Regions from separate parts of the Homo sapiens genome. Here regions 1 and 3 are each linked to region 2. Evidence: promoter capture Hi-C in 16 types of primary human blood cells and fetal thymus (Javierre and others, 2016). All regions are on one chromosome and are shown on one strand. Each heading gives the region's core, a stretch centred on a gene start or on the middle of the fragment in contact. The rest is flanking DNA. Distances are from core to core; before and after follow the strand shown. Region 1 holds the start of MRPL19 (mitochondrial ribosomal protein L19). Region 2 holds the start of INO80B (INO80 complex subunit B). Region 3 holds the start of SFXN5 (sideroflexin 5).

The links. The method cuts DNA at HindIII sites, captures the fragments that hold promoters and counts their contacts. A CHiCAGO score of 5 or more calls a contact.
Region 1: the fragment with the promoter of MRPL19 here is called in contact with the fragment with the promoter of INO80B in region 2 in 7 of 17 cell types (naive B cells, naive CD8 T cells, monocytes and 4 more); the score reaches 7.8 in naive B cells.
Region 3: the fragment with the promoter of SFXN5 here is called in contact with the fragment with the promoter of INO80B in region 2 in 1 of 17 cell types (neutrophils); the score reaches 7.9 in neutrophils.

What each region holds. Positions count from the first base shown.
Region 1 is chr2:75,645,194-75,649,920 of GRCh38, forward strand. It overlaps MRPL19 (mitochondrial ribosomal protein L19), which reads left to right and starts at 1,590. Exons shown (of 6, transcript NM_014763.4): 1 at 1,590-1,717; 2 at 1,909-2,026. The coding sequence starts at 1,615. RefSeq lists enhancers at 1,390-1,684, 1,520-1,819. The HindIII fragment of the contact is 2,636 bases long and covers 1,402-4,037 here.
Region 2 is chr2:74,451,407-74,456,367 of GRCh38, forward strand. It overlaps INO80B (INO80 complex subunit B), which reads left to right and starts at 3,681. Exons shown (of 5, transcript NM_031288.4): 1 at 3,681-3,768; 2 at 4,000-4,192; 3 at 4,412-4,530; 4 at 4,697-4,866. The coding sequence starts at 3,711. INO80B-WBP1 (INO80B-WBP1 readthrough (NMD candidate)) reads left to right here and starts at 3,617. Exons shown (of 8, transcript NR_037849.1): 1 at 3,617-3,768; 2 at 4,000-4,192; 3 at 4,412-4,530; 4 at 4,697-4,866. RefSeq lists an enhancer at 3,195-3,784. The HindIII fragment of the contact is 3,309 bases long and covers 853-4,161 here.
Region 3 is chr2:73,069,764-73,074,532 of GRCh38, forward strand. SFXN5 (sideroflexin 5) reads right to left here and starts at 1,949. Exons shown (of 14, transcript NM_144579.3): 1 at 1,841-1,949. The coding sequence starts at 1,942. RAB11FIP5 (RAB11 family interacting protein 5) reads right to left here. Exons shown (of 6, transcript NM_001371272.1): 6 at 3,619-4,769. RefSeq lists a silencer at 888-1,677 and enhancers at 1,818-1,867, 2,068-2,547. The HindIII fragment of the contact is 14,604 bases long and covers 1-4,769 here.

The DNA of each region.
Region 1 (4,727 bases), core at 340-2,839, 1.2 Mb after region 2:
ATGGATGGGAGGATGAGAAAGTATATGGATTCCTGAGATATTTGACGGTGTCAGGCATAGTTTTTGGAACTTCATCCAGGAGGAGACAGGGAGGAATCAAGAATGGCACTGAGATTTTTGGCTTAGGCAAGAGAGTGGATGCTGAAGCCATTCCTTGAGATAGCCAATACTGGGAAGGAAGTCTGGAGCTGAAAAAGATGAACTCAGTATGGATAGGCTGAATTTGAGGTAGCTTTGGGACATTAATGCAACTGGAATGACTATTATGTAGTTAAATTATCACATTACTCTAAGTGTTCAATCCTTATATAACCACTGCTGAAATAACAAATTCCAAATTTCTTTTTTTGTGTGTGTTTCTTTTTCTGTTTTTTTGAGACGGAGTTTCGCTCTTGTTGCAATGGCGCGATCTCGGCTCACTGCAACCTCTGTCTCCCAGGTTCAAGCGATTCTCCTGCCTTAGCCTCCCAAGTAGCTGGGATTACAGGAGCCTGCCACCACACCTGGATCATTTTTTTTATTTTTGGTAGAAACGGGGTTTCACTATGTTGGCCAGGCTAGTCTCAAACTCCTGACCTCAGGCGATCTGCCCGCCTCGGCCTCCCAAAATGCTGGGGTTAAAGGCGTGAGCCACTGCGCCCGGCTGTGTGTTTGTTTCTTAGAGATACGGTCTCACTATATTGCCCAGGCTGGTTTCCAACTCATGAGCTCAAGGGACCCTCCTGTCTCGGCCTCCCACAGTGCTGGGATTACAGGCATGCCTGGCCACGCCCAGTCATTTTCCAAATTTCTTAACAAGACTTACAATTTACCTTTTCCAGCTTTACTTCTCCCACCTATCCATACCCACAGTTGCCCAGCCCAAATTCATTTGGGTTCCTCAAAGGGTTAATGCTTTGTGTAGTCTCAAGGACTATGGGCCAGCAGTTCTGTCAGGAACTATTCTATTCTCTTTTCTGTGCATTCAGCAAAGAATTAGAAAAATTAGCTGGGCGTGATGGTGCGAGACTGTAGTCTTGGCTACTCGGGAGGCTGAGGTGAGAGGATCTCCTGACATCAGGAGTTGGAGGCTGCAGAGCCATGATCGCGCCACTGCACTCCAGCCTGGGTAACAGAGGAAGACCTTGTCTCAACAAAACAAAAGATGTTAGTGAGGGCCCAGGTAGGTGCTAGGTGCTGGGATAACATGGTGAGCAAAAAGAAGACTTTATCCCTTCCCTTGCCTCATTATAGTATAATGGCAGATTTAAATACTAATCTAATAATTACACAAGAAAGAATTGCAAATGAGATCAGAGCTGCCAATCGAAGGCACCCAGTGGGAAAGACGGCCTACAATGGGATTTTCGCATAGCGAAAGCTTGTCTGAGAAGATAGAGTGGATTCATAGGGGGAGGAAAAAGCTTTCTAGGCTGGGAGAACACCCCTGTGGAGGGGTGTAACTTGGCGCATTACGAGGAACTAGAGAAACGTGCACTTTTCCTAAGACATCAGGAAAGGAGCGAGGAGAGACTTATCCATTTTGTCCCATAGCAGCCGCCATATGGTGGCAGACAGCAACAACCTCGTCGCACTGATTACTGGGAGCTGTAGTCTTGACGTGAGCTAGCTGGCATGGCGGCCTGCATTGCAGCGGGGCACTGGGCTGCAATGGGCCTAGGCCGGAGTTTCCAAGCCGCCAGGACTCTGCTCCCCCCGCCGGCCTCTATCGCCTGCAGTAAGTGGAGCCGGACTTGCGAGCTGGGGCGCGTTAGGGGCCCAGGGTCAGGATGGGGGAGGCGAACCTGGAGATCAGAGGCAACCCCAGCGTTGGTCCCCCGTGGGACGCCGGGTTGGGGGAGATTGCGGGGCTCTGCGGGATCTCAGGGTTGGCACGAGAGTTCTGACCTCCGTCGTCCGCTCCCGCAGGGGTCCACGCGGGGCCTGTCCGGCAGCAGAGCACTGGGCCTTCCGAGCCCGGTGCGTTCCAACCGCCGCCGAAACCGGTCATCGTGGACAAGCACCGCCCCGTGGAACCGGAACGCAGGTGAGGCACTGCCCTGGCGCTAGGCCGGCAACTGGGGTCGGTGCGCGCGTGAGCGCGTTCGCGTTCGAGGTCCCGGCTCTAAGGTGGGGGCTGCACCTCCCCCTGCACGAGCAGGTGTGTAGGATTCAAGAGCCAGCGCACCACACTGTTCTTTCTTTCTCACTTCTCCCCAAGCCAGCATTGAACTTCTTTGCAGTTTTATTGAGTCAGAACTTCAAGTAGGGGTTCCCCATATTTTAAACTCTTTTCTCTGTGGTATTTGTCCTGTACCAGAGTTTTTCTCTGAGGTATATCCTGTTTATACCTGTTTACGTCCAAGAGCTCTTCTTTTCTCTCAAAAGACCCTTAACCCTGGATAGGAATCGATTGGCCAACTTAAAAAATTTGCTATGGTTTAGGTTGGAAGTTTTGGCAGACAAAGCACAGTAAAACTGGCCACTAAATTGTGTCTGAAACTTACTCATCAAAATAGTGTGAATAAAAACTTATATGAATGGTGGTAATCTTGGAGGTACATGTAAATTTAAAGGACTTAAGGTCTGAAAAGAGAGCTATGTAGCAACCTTTTTAAAAAGCCAGTTTTCAGAGGAAAAACCTGATATGATTATAGGCTTTTTGAAAGGGCTGTAGATTATTGATTGGATTACTTCTGGGATTTTTAATTTTTTTATTTTTTAAATTTTTTTTAGACAGAGTCTCTCTCAGTCTCCCAGGCTGGAGTGCAGTGGTGATTTTAGCTCACTGCAGCCTCAAATTTCTGGGCTCAAGTGATCCTCCCGCCTCAGGCTCCAGAGTAGCTGGAACTACTGGTACCACGCCTGGCTTTTTTTTTTCTTTTCTTTTTTTAACATTTAAAATATTCCACGGATTTAAATAGAAGTAAACTTGGAGTTAGAGAACTAAGAGATTCAGAAAATATTTCTTCATAAAACTTTGCTTTTGAGGGTAGAAATGGAATATCTCTTTTAAACAGTGGCATTTAATAGAATTCACTTAAATAGGAATGTAAATTATATGCTCTAGAGAACAATTTGACAGAATTTACTAAGTTTAAGTTGTGTATACCTTCTCACTCAGAAAGCACACAACTTAAACTCCTAACGTGTATGTACAAGGAGACAAGCACGAGAATGAATGTAACAGTATTTTTTGTAACAAAATTTAGAGGCAGCCTAGATATCCATCAGTAGGTGAACAGGCAAATACATTCATATGACAGAATATTGTATAGCAGTGAAAAATGAGTGAATTAGAGCTCACTTTTAAACATGGAAGATTTTCACAAATCTGTGTGTAAAAAAAACCTTTAGAATCATTAATGTAGTAGGATGCTATTTTTATGAAGTTTTAAAACTATAGGCCGGGTGCGGTGGCTCACGACTGTTATCCCAGCACTTTGGGAGGCCGAGGAGGGCAGATCACGAAGTCAGGAGTTCGAGACCAGCCTGGCCAACATGGCGAAACCCCCATTTCTACTAAAAGTACAAAAAAAAAAAAAAATTAGCCAGGTGTGGTGGCATGTGCCTATAATCCCAGTTACTCGAGAGGCTGAGGCAGAAGAATTGCTTGAACACAGGATGCCGAGGTTGCAGTGAGCCGAGATCGTGCCACTGCACTCCAGCCTGGGCGATAGAGCAAGACTCTGTCTCAGAAAAAAACAAAAACAAAATTATACGAAACAATATATGTTGCCCAGACATACATGCATATGAAAAGTAAAAAGAAATGTAAGGGGGGCCTTCTGAAACTTTGCCAAACAGTCAAACCTAACTTTACCAGTATTGGTACCAGTTGATATTATGTGTCTCCTGATGTGACAGAATAAGTTGTTCACATCATCTCCCTGTAATATTCTTACTAAAATTATTTAACCTTAGTCTAGGCATGTGGAAACAATCCAGAATCCAGAGATGAGATAGTAGGCCTTGACTGTTCAAAAAAGTTAATGTTATAAAAATACAAAGTTGGAAAAAAGTCCTAGTCTGAGAGACTAATGACCAAATATGTGTGAAGCTTGATTGTATTTTGAATTGGGCAACGAATAGATGTAAAATACCTTCCCAGGATAATGACATACATTTGAGTATGAACTCTGTATTAGACCAAGCTTGTCCAACCCACAGCCCAGGACAGCTTTAAATGTGGCCCAACACAAATCTGTAAACTTTCTTAAAACATATGAGATTTTTTTTGTGCCTTTTTTTTTTAAGCTTACCAGCTATTGTTGGTGTCTTTTATGTGTGGCTCAAGATAATTCCTCCAGTGTGTCCCAGGGAAGCCAGATGATTGGATACCTTTGTATTAGATTATGTTATCAAATTAATGCTGACTTTTATAGGTGTCAGAAGGGTATCGTGATAATATAGGAGCAAGTCCTTATTCTTAGCATAAGCCTTCTAAATTATTGAGGGATGAAATGCCTTGCTGTTCCATTTTTTTGAGACAGAGCCTTGCTTTGTCATCCAGGCTGGAGTGCAGTGGCATGATCTTGGCTCTGCAACTCCTACTCCTGGGCCCCTCCCTACTCAGTCTCCCAAGTGGCTGGGACTACAGGTGCCCGCCACCATGCCTGGCTATTTTAAAAATTTTTTTGTTGTAGAATGAGGTCTCACTATGTTGCCTAGGCTGGTCTGGAACTCCTGGGCTCAAACGATCTACCCTCCTCGGCCTCCCAAGTGTTGGGATAACAGACGTAAGCTAC
Region 2 (4,961 bases), core at 2,431-4,930:
GCATCTACACAATACCTGGAAGCCCCCATCTTCCAGTTGTCCTGCCTTTCCAGACCAAACCAACGTACATCTTACATGTATTGATTGATGTCTTATGTCTCCCTAAAATGTATAAAATCAAGTTGTAGTCAGACCACTTTGGGCACATGTTCTCAGGATCTCTTGAGGGGTGTGTCACAGGCCATTGGTCACTCATATTTGGCTCTGAATAAATCTCTTCAAATATTTTAGAGTTTGACTCTTTTCACTGACAATGATAATGGGCATAAACACAGATAAATATTAACAATTTCAGAATCTCGCCGGGCGCGGTGGCTCACACCTGTAATCCCAGCACTTTGGGAGGCTGAGGCGGGCATATCACAAGGTCAGGAGATCAAGACCATCTGGGGTAACACAGTGAAACCTTGTCTCTACTAAAAATACAAAAAATTAGCCAGGCGTGGTAGAGGGCGCCTGTAGTCCCAGCTACTCGGGAGGCTGAGGCAAGAGAATGGCGTGAACCTGGGAGGCAGAGCTTGCAGTGAGCCGAGATCGCACCACGACACTCCAGCCTGGGTGACAGAGCGAGACTCCGTCTCAAAAAAAAAAAAAAAAAAAATTTCAGAATCTGCCCCACCCGCCAACCATGTCGGGCATTCCATGTTAACCTGAAACACATGGAATGTTTAAGGAGATAAGAAAGTTTTGGCCCGGCACTGTGACTCACACCTGTAATCCCAGCACTTTGGGAGGCTGAGGCAGAAGGATCGTTTGAGCTCAGGAGTTTGAGACCAGCCTGGGCAACATGGCCAAACCTTGTCCCTACAAAAAAAAAAAAAAAAAAAAAAAAAAAAAAAAAAGAATTAGCTAAGCTTGGTGGTGTGTAGCTGTAGTCCCAGCTACTTGGGAGGCTGAGGTGGGAGGATCACTCAAGCCTGGGAGTTTGAGGCTGCAGTGAGCCGTGTTTGCGCCACTGCATTCCAGCCTGGGAGACAGAGCTAGACCCTGTCTCAAAAACAAAACGAAACAAAAACTTTATTAGAGAGAGTTCTTTGTATTCATCTTGCAATTTTTCTGTTTGAAGTTATTTCAAAATAATTTTTTAAAATACGACTAAGAAGTCTTTCAGAAAGAAGAGTGCCTCTCAGCCTACAAACATGCTCAAATCTCTCTCACTCTAAACAAAGCAAAACTAAAAACAAACAAAATAATGAAGCCAGTTGTCACTTACTGTTGCCACTTCCTCCCTGCTGGGCATCATGATGCAGAGGAAACACCACTGGGCCAGGTGTCAGGAAGCCTCTGTTTGAGTCTGGCTCTGCCACTCCCTAACTTTGTGACTTTGGCAAAAACATTTCTTTTTCTGAGCCTCAGTTTCCTCATTTATAAGATGGAAACAATGGTATCTCCCTTATGGAGATGCTGTGGGGGCCAAGGGAGAGAAGGAATATATAGGCAGGTTATAAACTCTAACGTATTCTACAAATATGAATTGCAAGTGATCCCTCACTGTAACTCCTGGTGATAAAAGAGTATTGCCTTCACACTGTGATAAAATCCATCCTCTTCTTGGAGCTCAGCCTACCCTCTGAAGGACTGTACCCAGCTGATCACAGCCTTAGTCCCTTGATACTTTCTGCCTTTCCTGACCTTCTCAACCCTGTCTGGCCCCTCTGCCTGGCTGTGCAGGACAGGTGCTCACTTGGTTCTGTTCCTGGTTCTTTTCCTCTTATCTACTTACTCTTTCTGGGTGTCTCATCTACTCCCATCACTTGGGGGCCTCCAGTATTACGCTGATGACATCCCCACTCACACTTTCATCCTTGGTTTCTCCTCTCAGCTATTCCACCTCCACCCAGGCATTCCCACAGGCACTTCAAAGTCGCCTTGGGCAAAACTAAATAATTCCCTTCTTAACTTGCTTCTCTTCCTATGTTATCTTCCTTACTGAAAATACCACCTTCCCGCTAAATACTTAGGCTAGAAACCTATGAGTCAGTTATTATTATTTGCTTACTGAAGCATCTACTATGTGCCTGTGCCTGTGCCTGCTGCCACCCTAAGTATCATGAGTTCTTGATTTCCTTTATTCCTTGAAAGAGCCCTCATAGCGGTGGATCCTACTGTATTCCATCTTATAGAGCTGGATTCTCAGGTTCAGAGAGCTTAAATAATTTTAGGCCCAAGGTTGCATAGCTAATAAATGGTGAAACTGGGATTTGATAATAGGCTTGTCTGACTCCAAAATCCCTTTTCATAATCACATACTACATGACTTAATCCTGGATTCCCCAATATAATTGCTCATTGATTCTTGATAATTTTATCACTGAAATGTAAGAGACTTTTCACTGCTGTTACCTTGCTCAGACACTCATATATATTTAGATATATGTATATAGGTGTTATTTTCTAATTATAAACGTGATATATATTGGCTGTAAGAAAATACATTACATACCTAAATAGTGAAAGTTCCTCAACCCCAACTTCTACAGTTAACCAACATTAACAGGTATACATTCCTCAATTTTTTCTATGTATTTGCTAGTATATTATGCTTTTAAAAATCAGATCACATAATCTTGAAATTTACTTTTTTTTTTTTTTCTTTTTTTTGAGACGGAGTCCCGCTCTGTCGACCAGGCTGGAGTGCAGTGGCGCGATCTCGGCTCACTGCGACCTCCACCTCCCGGGTTCAAGCGATTCTCCTGCCTCAGCCTCCCGAGTAGCTGGGACTACAGGCGCGTGCCATCACGCCGGCTAATTTTTTTTTTTTTTTTTGTATTTTTAGTAGAGACGGGGTTTCATCGTATTAGCCAGGATGGGAAATTTACTTTTCTTATTTCGTGTATCAGCACATACAAACCTACCTGTTTTTATGTCTTTTTTAAAATGAGGTAAAATATACACGTTTTATACAAAATTCAAAAGGCACAAGAGGGTATAATCATAAAAAAATAGGTCGCCATCCACCCTTGTTCTCTAGATGCTCATCAGCAAATGACTCTTACCAATTTCCTAGATAGCCTTCTGGGGCGCCTCATTTCTTTTCCAAGCTGCTTAACATCCCACTGTATGGATACACCAATTCATCAGGACACTTAGATTGTTTAAATTCTGTGTCAATCTCATTAATTACTTACAACTCAACTTTTCTTAGCAATATGGTGTTCCGCATTGTACAGCTGCACCGTAATTCATTTATTCATTTCCCTACTTATGAAAATTGAAGTTTAAATACCTAAACTGCATCTGCTCTTAGGGCACTCGTGCTGTTTAACCATTTCGGCCATTTTGTCATCAATATAGTTTATGTATTCCTCCACCCAACTGTGAGTTCCTCAAGGACAGGGGCGGTGTTCATATTCATCTTTGCATCCTCTTAGACTAGCTTCCCGCACTTGGTCTAGTGTATACATTCACCAAACTTGTGTTCAATAATTGACTCATCCGCGCTGAGTTCTGAAAGCTAGCGTGGGGAGGCGGAGCCAGGGGAAAGCCCTGCCCATTTGGGCTGTCCCGACCTCAGAGGGACCGGAACGTTCGTTGGAAGGATCCTCGTTTCTCAGGGACGATTTTGGACGCGAAGCGTGCCCCGCACAAGGATGGTTGCCATGAACCGGAAGTAACTGGTTGTTTTGCTGGCTCCAGTTTTTCCGCGGGGCGGAAAAGGCGTGTCTGCGTGTGTCCCAACCATTTCTAGTCCCCTTTCCTCGCAGGACCTCATGAGTAAGCTGTGGCGGCGTGGGAGCACCTCTGGGGCTATGGAGGCCCCTGAGCCGGGTAAGCGCGAATAGATCAAGCAATTTAGGTCGTGTTAGAAAAGAAGTCCCGTTCTTGCTCCTCGGAGAGTCCAGGGTACTTCGGCCACAGGTGGCAAGGAGAAAGGCGGTGCTGTTGTTATGGTAACAGCGAGTACTGCGGGAAGGGTGGGATCCAGTAGGGGCTTAGGTTATTCAGGGCTTCCCCTGCCACCCTCCGGCCAAACACTGTCGACAGGCTTTCCTTCCACAGGAGAAGCCCTGGAGTTGAGCCTGGCGGGTGCCCATGGCCATGGAGTGCACAAGAAAAAACACAAGAAGCACAAGAAGAAACACAAGAAGAAACACCATCAGGAAGAAGACGCCGGGCCCACGCAGCCGTCCCCTGCCAAGCCTCAGCTCAAACTCAAAATCAAGCTTGGGGGACAAGTCCTGGGGACCAAGAGGTGAGGCCAAGAGGGTCATAGTTTTATAAGGGGAACTTTAGGAGCAGAGATAGTAGTTAGAAGCCGACTGGGCTTTCTAGAAGACCGAATGGACACTGTGACTTCAGGGTCCAGATTTAGGCAGCAAGAGTCTAAGAGGGTGGGGAAAGTTGGGTGTAGCTACGGAGTAGGAGGAGGAGACGCTTGCTCATTTTAAAGAGTAGTGTTGCTTCTCTGCAGTGTTCCTACCTTCACTGTGATCCCAGAGGGGCCTCGCTCACCCTCTCCCCTTATGGTTGTGGATAATGAAGAGGAACCTATGGAAGGAGTCCCCCTTGAGCAGTACCGTGCCTGGCTGGGTGAGGATCTGGAGGTGGGGAAACTGGGTTTCTTATTATACCCGCCTAAAGAAAGAAGGTTGGTTCTGAAATGGGTTAGGATTTTCCATGTCCCAGTATTAACTCAGCCAAATTAGGGTGCCCCATCTGAACAATTCTGTTTTTCTTTCTCCAACTTCCTTCCCAGATGAAGACAGTAATCTCTCTCCCTCTCCACTTCGGGACCTATCAGGAGGGTTAGGGGGTCAGGAGGAAGAGGAGGAACAGAGGTGGCTGGATGCCCTGGAGAAGGGGGAGCTGGATGACAATGGAGACCTCAAGAAGGAGATCAATGAGCGGCTGCTTACTGCTCGACAGGTATGTTGGTTCATTGTTTATTCACTCACCAAATGTATACAGTATTGAGAACTCTCCACGACCCACGCACTTTGCGTGGCATTGGGGATATCGAT
Region 3 (4,769 bases), core at 699-3,198, 1.4 Mb before region 2:
AGGTCACTGAATGTCCCTAGTGCCACATACAGATAACAGACACCAGGACAAAAAGAAAAAGAAAAAAAAAAAGGAAACACAAATCTTTTACTCGGCACATTACTATATGCCTAACCTGTCTCCATCAGGGTAAGACAGAGGCAGAGAAGGGCAAGATCAGCCCCTTCTTGCAAAAGGCCTACAGGGGGTTTGAGGAAACCAAGTCGTCACACAGCAAACATTTAGAAGACCACAGGGCAGACTGTATGGAGAGCTATGAGGATCTGACTCAGGTGGCCAAAGAGATGTGCAGGAGGAAGCCTGCGATCTGATGGGACCAGAGAAGAAGGGAGCAAGTGTTTGCCAGAGAGGCAGGCCCGACTGAGCCTTTAAGAACGAGCAGAATGGGGGTGGGAGCGGGGACAGGCAATGTAATAAGGTCACTCAAGTCCAGGCAGGGACACCCCGACACTCTCGCCCTAGATGGCCTCCTACACTGGAAGGAAGATGCCAGTCTCGCCTCGGATACCTACATGCTGAGATGGCCTACTTTTAAAAGGAATTAAAGTCCTGTTAAGAAACACTGGGGACATTTTTTTCAGACGGCTCAGGAGCCAAGTTCCCTAATTATCAGCAAAGCTCGGGGCACCCCCTTGCTGGAACCAGTCCCCTTCCACCACAACAACAAAAAAAGAAAAAAAAAGCCACCGCACCGACCTTAGCACAATTTCCTTTCTTCCTTCAAAGTTCTTTTCTGGCCGCCTCGGCTGCCGCCCACCCCTGGCAAGCCCCGGTTCACTTCAGCGGTCTCTCTGCCTGTTTCCTAATAAATTCCGTCTCATTGGTGCGGGAGGCGCGGGAGCCCGAGGGTCTGCGGCGCGGGAGCGGCCCCTCCCCGGCTCCGGTCTCCGGGCCCAACCAGGCGCCCGGGCTCCGCGTTCCACCCCCGCCTCCGCAGTCTAGGGCCGAGTCGGCGACGCCCCAGAGGAGGTCCCGGAGGGAAAGGACCCCTGTCGCCGTGCCCCGAAGAGCCTGAGCGGGTGTGCCCAGAGCCAGTCCCCGGCGGCGCGGGGGCCCGGGCGCGGGAGACCCTCCGCGGAGAACACAGCGAGGAAGAGGCTGGGGGGGGGTTCCCAGGCGGCAGCCCCTCGGAGGGACGACGGCCCCAGGGGATGACACAGCGTTTCCCCCGCACGCCCTGGCTGCGTCCCCTCAGGGCATCGGCCGGCTTGCTGCGTCAGCGAATCCTCAGCCCGAGATGGAGAGCAGGGACGGGGGACGCCGGACCGCCGCTCGCCTCGGCACTCGCCCCCTCAACCTGCTGCGCGCGCCGAGCCCGGCTTGGGGGCCAGGGCTGGGGAGTGACCGCGGGGCGCGACGCTGCCCGGCGGCACCGCCAGCAGCTCGAAAGGAACGTCAGTCCCCACCGGGGGAAAAAGTTAGAAGGCATCCCGGCCACGCCAACTTCCCATCCAGGGCCAGACTAGAACTTTGCGTCCCGGGCGGGCAGCTGCACAACCCGGAGCGACCCTGAGCAGCCGCTCGAAGCCGGGCGCTCGGGACCTTGACCGCAGCCGCCGGTGGCCAATCACAGGGCGCCGCGGGCGGGAAAGGCTAGAGGGCGCGGGCAGTCGGGGAGTGACGGCGCCAAGGGCCAATAGGAAGCCAAGATGGGAGTCCGCGCCCGCCCCGTTGACCAATGGGAAAAGGGTGACTGTGACCGAGGTTCCCCCCCTGGCGCTAGCTGCAGGCTCCGCTGGCCGCGGGTGGGAGACCCTTGGGCGGAAGGGGACTTTGGAGGGGAGTTTGCTCGTCCTCTCTTTGCCACCCGCCGGCCCGCAGACCACAGCCCGGTCCTCACCTGCTGGAAGCGGGGTTTGCCCAGTTGGAAAGGAGGTGCATCGCTCGAGGCGCTAGCGGCACTAGCCGCCGCCGCCGATGCTGTAGTCGCTGTATCCGCCATGGCCACTGACGCCCGCAATCTCCGGCCCTTTTAAAATGTCCCTCCTCGGCCCCCGCCACAGCTGCCTCTCCCGATTGGCCCTAATCAACCGCAGCGAGCGGGAGGCGCAAGGCGTTGTGGGGAGTGTAGTTTTTCGCGTCGCGGCGCTTACAACCGTAGACTGCGGAGAGTTGCGGCCGTCCGGAGAGGTCTCGGTGCCCGCTGTCCGCGTTGCAAGGTGCAAGGTCGGCAGTCCAGGAAAGGTGTTCCTGTACGACGACCACGGGCCACCCCTCGCTGCTTAGTTGCCCCCAGAAGTTAGAGTTGCTGCCGTGGGCGTCGCTCCTGGGGCCAGGCAGCGCAGAAGGGTCCCATTCAAGGGGGAACCTGGGACCAGATGGGCAAAGACTCCAGGCGGAGTAGGGTTAACCTCGGAAGGCTTTCTCCAAGGAGTTGCACTGCGGACCTTCTCGTACTTTCCTCCGTCGCCACCCTGCCCACTCGTCCTGTGCTCTCCGGCTGCCCTGACACTCAGTTCCTGGAGCATGCTGGGGCCTGCCCGCCTCCCGACCCCTGAACATTCTGTACCCGGAAGACTAAATCTTCGCCTGATGCTGGCTTTCTGGCTTTAGCCTAAACATTGCATTTCCCAGTCCATCACTCTGCTTGCACAAAATCCCACAGAGGCTCCGTGGCACCCAGCACTTCTCTTTTGCACTCACAACTACTTACTGTTCTGGACAGTCTTTCTTACTGTAAAGTTCACAGGGCAGGGGCTATGACTTTTTGATTCACTTCAGTTTTCAGAGCCAGACATAAAAGGGCTCACAGTAGAGACTCAAATAAGTGTTGGCTGTGAGTTCATCAGTGGGGGATTAAGAGCCCTGGCAGCTTTCACCTTGTCTGGCCAACCAAGGAAGATCCCTCCTGGGCCTAATTCCTGGGCAGGAGGAGAACTTGGGACTAGGGTGGGTGGGGAGGGTGTTAGGTAAGGGGGAGTATTACAGATTGTGGAGTAAGGATCAGTATGGATAATAAACACATACAGTTGTAGAATGGATTAGCTGAAGATTCCCAGCTGAATTACCTGGTCAGTGAGCCAGACTTCGGGAGCTGCCTGTTTTGCCCAAGATGACAGTAGAAATATTTGGTCTTCTAGGGAACTCCACTTTGGGTCTCATTAGTCTCGTGGTGGAGTGCAGGGTTGGCTCATGTCTGCCAGTGTTTCTGGACACTACATGAGCTGTAGCAGTCAAAGTTTTTCATCCTCTAGTAGTTGAACCACAAGAAACACTTTTCATAAAGCTAGGGGGAGATTCTAGCTAGCCACGAAGAACAATTTGTATCTTGGATTTGTATCTTATCTTAGAGATTCTATCTAGCCATGAAGAACTATTTGTATCTTGGATTTGTATCTTATCTTCCCCTGCTAGACCATGCAACTTGAGAATAGGAATCCATTTCTTACCCTCTGTATTACCAATAAATGGGCCCATCTTAGGTGCGCAATAAATGTGGGTACCCTGGGAGTCAGAAAAGACTAAGTTCAGGCTGCTGGGCAACACTGTGCTGCTGCCCCCTTATAAGGGGCAGGGACAGTGTCATCCAAGAATCCCATCACCTTGATTTAAGGTGCTTTCTCCCACAGCAGCCTCCTGTAACTGTTCATTCCAAAACAGGAACACAACAGAGCCACCTGCAGTACATGAATGTTTTATTCTTCATAAAGTGCTTAAAACATGAAGAACAAGCTCTTTATAAAGAGCCTTAACTAGGAAGACAAACAGCAAAGCAGAACCATGCCTGCTCCCTGCCCAACCCACCTGCAACTTTCCTCCAAGTGTGGCTAGGAGAAGAAACATCAACAAGGACCCTGGGCTTCGATTCAAAAACTCCTCTGAAGCCATCCATGCCCTGGGCATTAGGGAGGCCCACAAAGGTCAGGGCCAGGGCTGGGAGTGAATAAAGCCCAGAGGAATCCCCAGTAGGGGGGGTGACTCCCCCTCTCTCAGAAAAGATACTTACTTCTCTAATACCCAATGACCCCCAAAAGCATGACTGAAACCCTGGGGACCAGTGGATACTTTTCTCAGATTTGATGAGTGGAGTTTAAGGTAGGTAACGTTACAGGGGCTTTCCTCCATGTGTGGCGCTCCTCTGCTCCATCCTGGCAGCAGACAGACATCACCCAGAGGGCACGTGTCTGCCTGAGGCCTTCCAAAAGCAAGCCCACAGGCCCTCTCCTGAAGAAGTGGTGGTCCCAGAGGAGCTCTTGCCTCCTCACTAAGCTGTTAAGTATCCTTCTTCAGCACCTCATCACCCCCCATTTTTGCTAATTCAGGGTGCCCCAAGCTGCCAAAGTTCCCTGCAGATGCCTTGGGGAAGCCTACCATGTTTTCTACAAGCAAACCAGGGGCTGGGCCAAAGGACAGATACTTCATTTCAAAGTGCACTGCAGCCAAGCCAGGCAAGCCCCTGGGGCAGAAGGGACAGGCTGAGATAGCAGCTTAATGGATGGATGGGAGGACAACAAAGGCTTTTTCCTAAGTATAGGTGTCTCCCAAAGGCATAGTGGGACCTCCCTCTTCCAGGCAAGCTGACTGGTCTAGTATGGCTAAGTCCTGAGGCCAGACAATGAGAGTGAGCAGGGCAGCCCCAGGCCTGCCTGCCCGCCTGCCCAGCAGTGTTTATCCTGGGATCCTCCTATTGGGGTTGAGGGAGGGGAAGACAGCAGGAAGGTTGAGGGAGCAGCAACTTGGCCAGACCAAGAGATTAACTTTAGGGGAGGGGAACAGCCCACAGCAGTGCTGTCCATTCCCATTCCCAGGGCCCTGAGAGAGCCATCCCT